Linked DNA regions of Homo sapiens: region 1 is linked to region 2. Evidence: promoter capture Hi-C in human tissues and cell types (Jung and others, 2019). All regions are on one chromosome and are shown on one strand. Each heading gives the region's core, a stretch centred on a gene start or on the middle of the fragment in contact. The rest is flanking DNA. Distances are from core to core; before and after follow the strand shown.

Region 1 (5,971 bases), core at 2,358-4,857, 290 kb before region 2:
GCCTCGGCCTCCCATGGTGCTGGGATTACAGGCGTGAGCCACCACCCCTGGCCACAGACTGGCTTCCTTCCTTCCCTCCGTCCGTCCTTCCTTCCTTCCTTCCTTCCTTCCTTCCTTCCTTCCTTCCTTCCTTCCTTTCCTCCCTTTCTTTTTCTTTTTCTATTTCTCTTTCTCTCTCTCTTTCTTCCCTCCTCTCCCCTCCCCTCCTGTCCTCTTCTCTCTTTCTGACAGAGTTTCACTCTTGTCACCCAGGCTGGAGTGCAATGGCGCAATCTCGGCTCACTGCAGCCTCCACCTCATTTGTTCTCATGTCTTAGCCACTCGAGTAGCTGGGATTACAGGCACCTGCCACCAGGCCTGGCTAATTGTTTTTTTAGTAGAGACAGGATTTCGCCATGTTGGCCAGGCTGGTCTCAAACTCCTGACCTCAAGTCACCTCAGCCTCCCAAAGTGCTGGGATTACAGGCATGAGCCACCACACCCAGCCTTCTTCATTCTTTTTTTTTTTGAGGTGGAGTTTTGCTCTTGTTGCCCAGGCTGGAGTGCAATGGCACAATCTCGACTTACTGCAACCTGCACCTCCCAGGTTCAAGCGATTCTCCTGCCTCAGCCTCCCGAGTAGCTGGCATTACAGGCATGCCCCACCACTGGGTGAAAAATGCCCAGCTAATTTTGTATTTTTAGTAGAGATGGGGTTTCTCCATGTTGGTCAGGCTGGTCTCGAACTCTCGACCTCAGGTGATCTGCCCACCTCAGCCTCCCAGAGTGCTGGGATTACAGGCATGAGCCACTGCGCTCGGCCCATCATTCTTAATAATATTCCCAAATGGTGTATAGATAAATACTGCCACAATTTCAGGACTAGAGGTTAAAAAAAAAAAAAGGACAAAGTTGGACAGTAGAGCTGAGAGCACAAATTGTCCCCTTTTTTTCCCAGGTCCTTAGGTTCGTAGACCTGTGTCAGCCATAATTACTGCTGAATGTGACTCCTGTGTATACGGTCATTTTTATTTTTTCTGTTCCTGGAGGTAATGCAATAAGTCACCTCAAAAAGGGCAGAGAATGAGGGAGAGAATCTACCTGCATTGGCGTATTGAAAAGATCAGATTATTTCAGAATCCAGATCATTGTTTACTTTTAGCTGCATAAAAATATCCAAGTAGATTTTCTTATAACCTCTCCAAGATAAAGATGCCAGAAACGGCAGCCAAATACATTGACTTTGAGAGAGGAAAAAAAAAAAGCTTGTAATTGCCGATCACTCCTTAGATTTACTTCTGGGGAGCATCAATTAAAAATCTCAAAACACGTGGCTTTTTCAGTAAAATTATATTAATATGGAGGAAGAGTTTTTATTAAATATGAGTGCACGTGTGTCTGTGTCTGTGTGTGTTTTAAACGTTTCCATAATGAGTTCCCAAGTGCTTTTTTGGCAGTAGTTATTAAAGCTTGTGTGTTTGCGATTTATCTGGCAAAATGCCTTTAGTGAAGAAAGGATATAGTGTTCTCTTGGTTCTTTGCCCAAAGTAATTTTGGAGAAATCTGTGACTGTATTTAGTTCATGTCATTCATTGGAGACAAGTCATTGTAATTACATTTGATCACAATCAGTTTACAGTTGTTTTATCATGTTTTCATGCTGAATATCTACTCAGACATCATAGCAAAATTTAATGGCTACTGTTTTATTTGTACATAAAAAGATTTATAGCCCTTTTTTGCAGTACACATCGGGTTTCAATCATCACTGCTACAGAGTGAGAGGAAAGCTATGGATAAAGAACTATCAGAAATCCTTGACTACATAAAATTTTATTTCAGGTCACCTTGCCATAAAAGATATTGAATGTATTTTGTGGCTTTTCCTCCTGACATGCTAACCGTTGTAGAAGAGTTGCAATATTTGGAGGAAACCGTATGAAATGTGGAACTTAATTCACTTAAGATGGTTTACATTTGCGCGTGTTTTCCACTGGAAATAGCCATGCCAGCCTTATGAATGGCCCCTGGGTAATGCAGAGTAAAAGGCAATGGCATTACCGATATTGTTGAGTTTTAAAAGGAAGTTGTCTTCTTAACCATACGGCTGAACATTTTGTCATTGTTGTTTCAGAAGGTCTGCTCTAACATCTGCACTGCGGCAGAGTTGTGTTACAGGGTGTTATTTACAGCTGCCAAATGCTGGAGGCTCTCATGTATCAGACAGTCTCTGATTTGCTAATTGTGGAAGCCTTGATTCACCAGTGAATTTGGGTAAATTCACTAGTTATCTCCTAAGTGTCACTTCTCACCATGCCTTATTTTTCCCAAAAGGTTGATTCCAAGCTCTGCTGAAATCTGCTCTTGGTCTATATGTTTGAGTCTACATTGTTGAAGAAGCTCCCTTTAGAAAAGTGTAATTAATGGGAAACTTTGACATCCAGCTGAGAAAATTAGTTTGCATCAAAAAAGGCAAGATAGAGGATTAAAGAAATTTTAGTCCTAATCTAATTAACACCAATTAAAAGATGCAGATGAATTTACACCAACAAATTGTTAATTATGCACCAATTTGCCTTTTTTCTGCAACCAAACTGAAATCAGGAAAGTATTATTATCTTTTTTGTTTGAGGAGACTTACATTGTGGGTTTGTTACAATCATCTTTTATATAATTAAAAGGTAGGCAGAAAGAGCGTGAAATATTTCAGTCTCCTGACATTTTAATTTAGGTTAACTCTTTAAAAATACAAAGTACAGAAAAAAAAAATTCCAGAAAGTACAGGATAATTCTATTAGCATTTATTCACTGACTAGATATTTATTGAGGACCTAGTATGTGCTGGACACTTAGGTAACCATTGTTTCTCTCACTCAAAATATTTTAACTTGTTTGTATTTCTAATATATTGCTCATTAGAAAAATTGTATACGCCAGGCGTGGAGGCTCATGTCTGTAATCCCAGCATTTTGGGAGGCCGAGGCGGGCAGATCACGAGGTCAGGAGATTGAGATCATCCTGGCTAACACGGTGAAACCCTGTCTCTACTAAAAATACAAAAAATTAGCCGGGTGTGGTGGCGGGCGCCTGTGGTCCCAGCTACTTGGGAGGCTGAGGCAGGAGAATGGCGTGAACCCGGGAGGTGGAGGTTGCAGTAAGCCAAGATTGCGCCACAGCACTCCAGCCTGGGCGACAGAGCGAGACTCCGACTCAAAAAAAAAAAAAAAGAAAAGAAAAAGAAAAATAGTATAAGCTAATTGTACCAAAATTGTATAAGCTAATTAAATTCTGCCCTGGATACATGTCAGAAAAGGAGAATCGAAATTTTGGGCCTCAAGAAATGCTCTTAATGTCCCAGAACTCCTCTTTAATGTGACCTTTTAGGGTATTCAGCGTCCATCTTCCTCACCCGGGGAATCTGTGTTTGTTTCCCAGTGTTACTCAGATCTCCACTGTGCTGGGACTTTCTTTTTCCTTGTGAATCACTCTTACAGCTCCTCAGATGGTGATCTGAGTAATTATGTAGAGGGTGGTGAAGCACAGACCTTTTAGATCTGCAAATGACACATCTGTCCAAATGTCATGTAATGAGTAACCACAATCCACTTTATATAAGCCATATTTCTTCTCTTTCCAAAATGGGAAGGAGAGGGTGGGGGGGGAAATGTCTGGTAGAAATGGGAAGAAAAGCATTTCTATGGATTCCTCTAGCCATTAATTACATAGAAAATGCCACAGCTGCCCTCAGATTTCCAGGTGCACGTTATTAAACGTCATTCAAAGGAAATGTTTGGCCAACTAGATCCTGATGTGAGAAACAGCATCCTAAAGAGCTATGTATGTTACTGTCTAATGCATGTACTTAGGCATTAAATAATATTAAATGACCATATTACCTTCTTGGGGCAATAGTTAATATAAACATTTAGGATGCTCAGTTTGTACTTTTCAGTATTTGTGCTGGAAACTTTTGCATTCACAACTTTGAAAACTGGCTCGTGTTTTCATGGGAAGTGTCAGTTTAAAGTTGGCCTACTAATTAATGGGGGAATTTCAATATGGCAGTGCCTATGACAGCAAATGAAAAGCATTCTTTATAAACATCGTCTTCCTCCACACATTCACAGGTTAGTATCTGACACCCATTTTTAATTTCTAGAGCACCATTTGTACTTCTCTGTGGTTTTGCCTGCAAGTCTTCGATGATGCAGTCCACCCTTCCATAAAAACGTACTCCAATTTTCCTAGATTCTACTTTCATTGTTTTGTGAATCAAGTTAGAAGGTACATAACTTAGCCTGATGAGATGGCATTCATAAGGTTAGGATAGCAGAGTTGCCTAACTAATCTTCCTGTTGCAATGAAATAAAAGAATGATATCTAAGTTGACCAACCTTGTAAAAGGTAATTTTACAAGAGGCCTCCAAAAATAACGGACTAGGACTGGCCAGAGAAGAAAATAAACCCCTCATCCTCAATCCAGAACCCAGAGTTTGTCATCACTAGTCGAAAAGCTTGTTTGTTTTATACCTAAGTGAGACCTTGAGTTATCCAATGTGCTTCCATCACAGAATGGCCCACCAGGGTAGAAGGATTCTGAGTGTATTCCCTGATGCTGTTGCCATGTGCCTATGGAATACCTATGCTCCATATTTAGCCCTCTTTCTGTGTAGTAGCAGAGACGTGGATGGCTGCTGAAACTAAGGGCCCAGTCTTTGGCCTTAGGACAGACCACTGGGTTTCTCCCACTGCCTAAAACCTTAGTAGCATTAGCATCAGACATGGACCCAATAAACAAACTACCTAGTTGATAAGCGCCGCATTTTTCATGATGTTTTACTGTGGCCTATCCACACACTCTTTCCTATTCCATGAAAGGAAGAAAAAGATAATTTGAGTTGTCCTATAAATTAAAATTTTTCCTTTGTGATTATTTTGGACCAGCGCCATAACATTCAGAAGATTATGAGTGGAGTCTTTAGTCTGTGAACAAAGTCCTAAGAAGGAAGTAGTGCTGTAACTTACTTCATCTAAAGAAGCATCATCGCTGAATGTAAAGAGTGATTCTGGATTGGATCTTAAGCCGGAAAAATAAATGGAGATAAAGTACGTTATTGGGATAATTTGTGATATTTAAATAAGGCCTGTAGAATAGATACTAGTATCGTACCCATGTTACATTTTCTGATTTGGATAATTGCAATAAAGTTGTGTAGGAGAGTGTCCTTGGTTTGGGGAACCATTTAAGAGTATAGGGGCACAATGAATATAACTTACAGATGGTTCACGGAAAAAATACAGGTGCATACTATATAAAAATAAATTTATATCTGCATATATTATGCATATCTACCTATCTATATCTGTATTTATACATATGGAGAGAGAGAGACCAAGAGAGACAGAGAGAGCAGTAATGATAAAGAAATGTGGCAGAATGTTAGTGCTAACAGTTGGTAAGACTGGGTAAGGAGAATTCAGGAATTATTTAGCTATCCTTGCATTTTTATTTTTATTTTTTTTGAGACAGAGTCTCCCACTGTCACCCAGGCTAGAGTTCAGTGGCACGGTCTCGGCTCATTGCAACCTCCACCTTCCGGGTTCAAGCGATTCTCCTGCCTCAGCCTCCTGAGTAGCTGGGGTTACAGGCATGTGCCACGACGCCTGGTTACTTTTTGTATTTTTAGCAGAGACGGGGTTTCACCAGTTGGCCAGGCTGGTCTCAAATTCCTGACCTCAAGTGATCCACCTGTCTCGGCCCCCCACAGTGCCAGGATTACAGGTGTGAGCCACCACTCCCTGCCTCCTTGCATCTTTTCTGTTAGTTTCAGATTACAGTCATGTGTCACTTAACAATGAGAATACGTCTTGAGAAATGCATCCTTAGGCAATTTCATCGTTGTGCTACCATCACAGAATGTATTTCCACAAACCTAGATGTTACAACCTACCGCACACCTAGGCTGTGTGGTATGGCTTATTGCCCCTCTGA
Region 2 (6,098 bases), core at 1,668-4,167:
CAGGCGGCCCGCAGGAGCCAAGCCAAGGCTCCCGCCTCGGGCCACCCCGACGCTGCTGCCCCCGCAGAGCCCCGAGCGCCCCCGGCCCGAGCGTGGGACCCGGCGGCTACCTCCTGGCCGCAGCAGCGCCGATAAATCTGCCAAGTGATTACTGAACGTAAACTCCAGTTACTTAAGTGTCCTCCGAGGGGTAATCGTATCTGTCCCTATAAATCCCGACTGCGTTCGCGCTCATCAGCGCTTCCGCCCGACGCGCTGGTCCGCTCAAAGGGGGCACACGACCCACAGGAGCCATCCACCGCCTCGCGCCGCAGCCGCCCTCCTCAGCGCTGTGGGATCCCCAGAGGCAGGGCTTGAGGTGGGGTGGGAGGGTCCCCACGACGCCGGTGGCTCCCCACCAATTCCACGACAGGGTAGGCCTCACCGATGGTGGGAGGCTCGGGTCCTCCTACAACTAGAACCTTCTCTAGAAAGGCAGATGTCAACTCCAGCACCCTCCAGGGCGAGTGTGATACTGCGTGTGAGAGGGCGCGTGGGGCGTGTAAATGATGTGAGTGTGAGGACACACAGGTGTCGCGGGAATGGGGTGCACGCGCAGGAGGATATGAGTGTGTAAAGTTGTGGGAGACGCACGCAGAAGAAGGTGTGCGTGAAGAGTGTGTCACGGTGGGCGAGTGCGAGTGGTCTCCGGGGTTCCGAAAGCGCATTCCTGTCTTCCCGGAGGGGTCCCTTCCCCTCCCGGAAGGCCTGCCTCGGGCGGCCCAAATCCGGCAGCAAATCCCACGCCCGGTCCTCGGAGCGCGGAGACTGCGCGGGGCCTACGACCCGGTGGGAAGAGAGGCGCTTGCCGGGGCGGCCCGGCCTCTCTTTCCATCGCCCTCCCAGACTTCCCAGGGCCGGGCGGGTGGGGACTGCCGACCGTCCTGGGCGCCTTCCTGCTCCAGCTGCTGCTGCGTCTGCTCCGAGGTGGCGGCGGCGGCGGCTGGCGCGCGTTGCGGGTCCCGGCCGAGGGGCTGCGGGCGCGCTGGAGACTCCGCCGTGTGGGAACCCAACGCGGGGCCTGTGTGTGCTATCGAATTACTTATTCATAGAAAAAAAAAAGGGGGGGAGAGAAAAAAAAAGAAGTCACATGTCCGGGTTATACGTATGCGAAGAGAAGCAGCAGAAGGAGAAAAAAATTAAGGCGAGCAGGAGGAGGAGGAGAAGCAGCGGCGGAAGCGGCGGCGGCGCAGGAGCTGGTGGCGGCGGCGGCGGCGCGGCCGGGGACAGACACCCACCTGTATGAGTACGCTTGTGGATCTTGAGGTTCTCGGAGCGCGCGAAGACCTTGCCGCAGCCGGGGAAAGGGCAGGGAAAGGGCTTCTCGCCGGTGTGCACGCGGATGTGGTTGATGAGCTTGTATTTGGCCTTGAAGGGCTTGCCCTCGCGCGGACAGTCCTCCCAGAAGCAGACGTGGCTGCTCTGCTCGGGGCCTCCCACGTGCTCCACCGTGACGTGATTCACCAGCTCGTGCATGGTGCCGAAAGTTTTGGAGCAGGGCTTGGCGCCGCCGGCCGGGGGCGGTGGCGGCGGCGGCGGCGGCGGCGGCGGCGGCGGCGGCAGCCCGGCCAGCTCGTCGGGGTCGATCCACTTGCAGATGAGCTCCTGCTTGATTGGCTGCCGCATGTAGCGCAGGAAGGCCCCAGCCGCCCCTGGGAGGTGGGGGTGGTGCTGGTGCGGGTGCTGCGCGGGCGCCGGCGGCGGCGGCGGCGCCGGGGGCGGCGCGTGGTGCTGCAGGTGGGGCCCGGGCCCGGCCGCTGCTGCGGCCGCCGCAGCCGCCAGGTTCAGGTTTAAGTTCACGGCTCCGTAGCCGTGCAGGGCGGCCGCCGCTGCGGCCGCAACCGCCCCGTAGTGCGCGTCCCCAGAGCGCGGCGCGAAGGGCGGTTCGGCGCGGCCGTACAGCTCAGCCGCCGCGGCTGCCGCTGCCGCCGCCAGCCCCAGGCGCATCTGGCCGTTGAGCGGGTGCGGGTGGCCGCCTGGGGCCCCCGGCGTGTCGTGCAGCGCGGGGAAGAGCGCCGGGCCGCCGCTGCCGTCCGGGCCCGCGTAGGTGCCGCTGGCGGAGATGAACATGCCGGCCGAGTGGGGAGGCGGGGCCGGGTGCTGGGGGGAGCCGGTGCCGGACCGCTGCTCCCCTCCGAGCGGGGCCCCGTGCATGGCCGCCGCGGGGGCCGTGGCGGAAAGGTCCCTCCGGAGGACGAAGTCCCTGCTGTGGCCTTTGCCGCTGCTGCCGCCGCCGCCACTGTTGGTGGTGGTGTAGCCCGAGAGGGCAGGAGGAGGAGGAGGCGGGGGAGGGGGAGGGGGTGAAGGGGTGGGAGGAAGAGGAGGGGCTGGGGGCGGGGGCGCGGAGGGCTGCGCGCCACTGCTGCCCCCGCCGCAGGGGTAGCTGCCCGCGCCGGGGTGCGCGACCAAGGCTGCAGCACGGGCGGCGGCTGCCGGAGCCTCCGGGTGTGCCGGGAACGCCTGGGAGGGAGGGCTGAGGCCCAGCGTGCTCGCCTGGGCCATGTGCTCGGGTCCGAGCGGAGTGGTGGCCACGCCGGGGTCAGCGCCCAGGTCCCGCAGGCGGAGGTGCGCGACGGCGGCCCGGAGTTGGGAGTGGGCGGGCGGGCCGGCCAGCGCCGGGAAGCCTGTCATATTCTGAAGCGGCTGGACCTGAGCCGTTGCCAAATCCGCTAATCTCAGCGCTGGCGGGTTCCTCTTGCTCAAAGGGGGCTCCATCAGAACTACACAATCAGGCCCATAGACCCTCACTGGGGGGACTTTATTCCCTCTGCCCGCCTTCAAAAACATGTATGTATTGGGCGCTCTTTAACTTCTTTTGTCCTGGCCTCTTAACTCTGCTTATTCCTGTTCCCACTCTATCCTCCAGCGATTGGCAGAGTGAACACCACATTTGAGCTGCACAGTGGGACCGAGATTTTGGAAATGGCACGGGTGGGATTGGAGGGAGCCGCGTGATTGGCAGTAGCCTCGGCTGCTCGATTGGCTCCCGTTCAGGCCCTCGACCCAGCGGGGATTCGCCCCCGTGCTTGCGGCCGCCTGCGCTTTCGCTTCGCGCCCCCTCCTCCGCTGGAGCCACACGTCCCCGCCTCCCCGGGGATGCCCAAGTTGCACTTGCAGAAAGTTTGAGCCTGGCCTGCGCGCGCAGCGCCCCGCTCTTCCTTGACGCACCTCGCGGAGCGCGCGCCGGCACGCGGGCAGAGGGCGCGGGGTGGTGAGGGGCTGAGGACCCCCGAGGGGCAGTCCCAGTTTCAAAAACCTTGGCCTCACTTCTCTGTGTGCCTTCTGGCACCCAAGTACTTTCTGCCTCTACCTCCACCTCTCTTGTGGGGTGGAAGAGCCCTGGGCTGCTGTTTGGGAGAGAAGGGTGAATAGCCCGTCCTACCTGTAGTGGTGATGCTAGAAACTTCTTGTTTGGACACCCAACCTGCCTAGCGCTCACCTAGGGCGCATAGACAGTAGACGGAGTGAAGAAGATAAAGTCTATTGGTTGCAAGACAACTTGAGTGATTTGGCTCCGCGAAACACCAGGTGAAGTCAAAATAAGTCTTTCCCCCAAAGGAACCGTTTTACCTCGACTTTTTATCTCATGGAGAGTCCTTTTCAACATGGTTCAAAGGAGTTGGATGGAAGTGTAATCTCACTACTCATCGGTTCTAGATCTGCCACTTCCAATTAGATCTACAGTAGGGGCGGGGGAGAGGAGATCGGGCAGCGATTCTAACTTTTGCCTTTCGGAGATACAGTGGCGGGGCAGGCCAAACGGCATCTCTGCAGAGAGAAGCCGCTAAATAAGCACCGTCCTTTAAGTAGAATTTCTCCTTCCGGTCCAGATCCCAGTCCACAGTCCACATGTATGCCTCAGTTTCTTTGACTGATCCACAATTAGAACTGATCCAATAAAATATTATTTTGAAATCAAGAAATATCTTTGCTTTTTATTTACTGATAGAATAATCTTTCACCTTTTTATCGTTTTCTCATAAACCAGTCTACCTCTAAGATGTCTTATTTGAAAACCATAAAAACTGGCTTTTAAAAAAGCGAATCCCATCCCTTTCCAGAGGTTTGGTATCAAATCGATTTTTTAAAAATAGAAATTCCCTGCATCACTTTTTGGTGGGCGGAGAAATGTGGGACCCTCCCCCCAAATTAAGGATTTTACTGCCCCAAAAGTGTCCTTTTCAGATTTTAAAAGAAAGCATTTTTGAAATTTGTGATGTTACAAAATGCTCAAATATTAAAGCCAGGATTTTAAAATTTGTATTTTGCTGTCATCCGTAACATTACTTGTAAAAAAAAAAAAAGTGATAATGATTAGAATGTGATCTTTTTCTTTGGGGATACAATAAAATATGTTTCCAACTTAATTCATTTGCAGTCCAAGTAAAAGTAGACTGCACAAAGCCGTTATTGGGGAGATGGCCGTGGGAAGTAATCAGAAATATTCTGAAAAGAGTTGATTCGATAGTGCCATTCACATTGGTGTGAACGATGTTTAACAGGGGGCTTCGGTATGAGACTTAGGAATGTCATTTCTTTTATAAAACTGACAAGCAAACAAAGACAATGCTACCATCAAATTTCAAATGGACTTTTTCTTTAAGTTGCAATGAAGTTCAAATATGGGGAATTAAAGGCATGTGTGGAAACACAACGAAAAAATTTTAATAAACAGCAGTAACAAAATCTTCATCTCACTTTGGAAACGACGAGTCCTTTCACAATTTTTATGTCAAAGACTTAAAACATTTCAAGCCAACCAGGCAAAGGTTGATCGAGAGCTGTGCCATCTCTATGGATAGTTTATGGAGAAAGCATCATATTTGGAATTATCACTGTCATCGTTTCCTCTCTGAACATTTCCAATGAGTTTCCTTTATTTGAATTTCTTGGCAATAAGCATTAATTCTTGCAGTAATGGCAGCTTTGGGTTCAATCCTGCAGGTTATAAGTAAAAACAAAACAAAACAAAATGAATAAAGAAAGAAGAAAATAAACACAAGCTAGCCTTTAATATGGACTGTTGAGCATTTTTATTGTGCAATAAAATGGGTACCTCCACCCCCTTCAAAATAGCTTTTCGTCAAAATTATAACTGCTTTGTTTTATTGAATTGCTGAAATTTAATGGTTTAATGGGTGAAGGCATGAAGGAAAGGCTGTAAAAATGTGAATAATGGTGTAGCAGAGCCGTGCGGAATCTGGAACCCGCCTCCTTGTACAACTCTTGTTAAACACAGCGTGATATGTATCTGTCATCGATTTAATATGTCTTAATTCAAATATAGCTCCCTGATCAATTTCTTTTTATGGAAGCCTTAAAAAAGAAAAGACTTTCTTAGGAAATAATAGAGATTTGGGTAGCGATAGGAAAGAGGGATATTTACAAAGTGAGTTTAATGAATATTTGCAAATTTATGACCAAACCTAGACCCTAAAAAGATAATTGACTCAGGTAAATCGACTTGAGATGCTAATTCTTAAAAGAAAAGACTGGGAGCAAAATTTCAATCAACACCAATAAGGCGCCAATAAACCGCCTGCCAATTAAACCTGAGAATAGGCCTAGCTAGATGGTCATCAGGAAGGCTTGCAGTGGATTTCCGGGATTGCCTTTCTTTATAAAAGAGCTTTTTATTTTGTAGAAGCGCTTTTTGTTATTGTGATGACCCGCCTGACCCCAGGTGCGCTGTTTCTTTTTCAAGCTATTTGGGAGCCAAATCAAACCCCCTTAACATCCCAAGTTTCTGAAGACCCAATAATTCTGTCACACTTCCTAAATAAACACCAACAATTTCCAGGGCGCTGAAGGGAATAATAATACTAGTTTTAAAAGCAGGGGGCTGTGGAAGGCGTTATGCCAATTCTTCTGGGGGTTTGGCCCGCATATTTCGACGGTGGTGCTGGTCGTCAGGGCCAGTCCTCAAATCCATGCCCCTTTCTGCGTTTTGCAGCGGAGGTGCCTGCGTGGAGGCAGCAAAGTGGCAAGCCATGGAAATGTCCTTTCTGGAGTTAGCAAGGGCTCTTGCGGGGCGTGTATTTCCAGACCTCTAGGTTGCA

Evidence for each region. Contacts are between HindIII fragments. The study calls those that stand out against the background at their distance.
Region 1: a fragment that was not itself captured here is called in contact with the fragment with the promoter of ZIC5 in region 2 in 1 of the 25 tissues and cell types used here (dorsolateral prefrontal cortex).

The regions. Positions count from the first base shown.
Region 1 is chr13:99,676,103-99,682,073 of GRCh38, forward strand. All of the region lies in intron 1 of CLYBL (citramalyl-CoA lyase), which reads left to right. It overlaps LOC124903199 (a long non-coding RNA gene), which reads left to right. Exons shown (of 2, transcript XR_007063848.1): 1 at 1-5,085. Among named protein-coding and RNA genes, the nearest start is that of CLYBL-AS2, 12 kb to the right of the region's middle. The HindIII fragment of the contact is 6,398 bases long and covers 409-5,971 here.
Region 2 is chr13:99,968,850-99,974,947 of GRCh38, forward strand. It overlaps ZIC5 (Zic family zinc finger 5), which reads right to left and starts at 2,918. Exons shown (of 2, transcript NM_033132.5): 1 at 1,278-2,918. The coding sequence starts at 2,754. RefSeq lists enhancers at 5,365-5,907, 5,908-6,098. The HindIII fragment of the contact is 23,774 bases long and covers 1-6,098 here.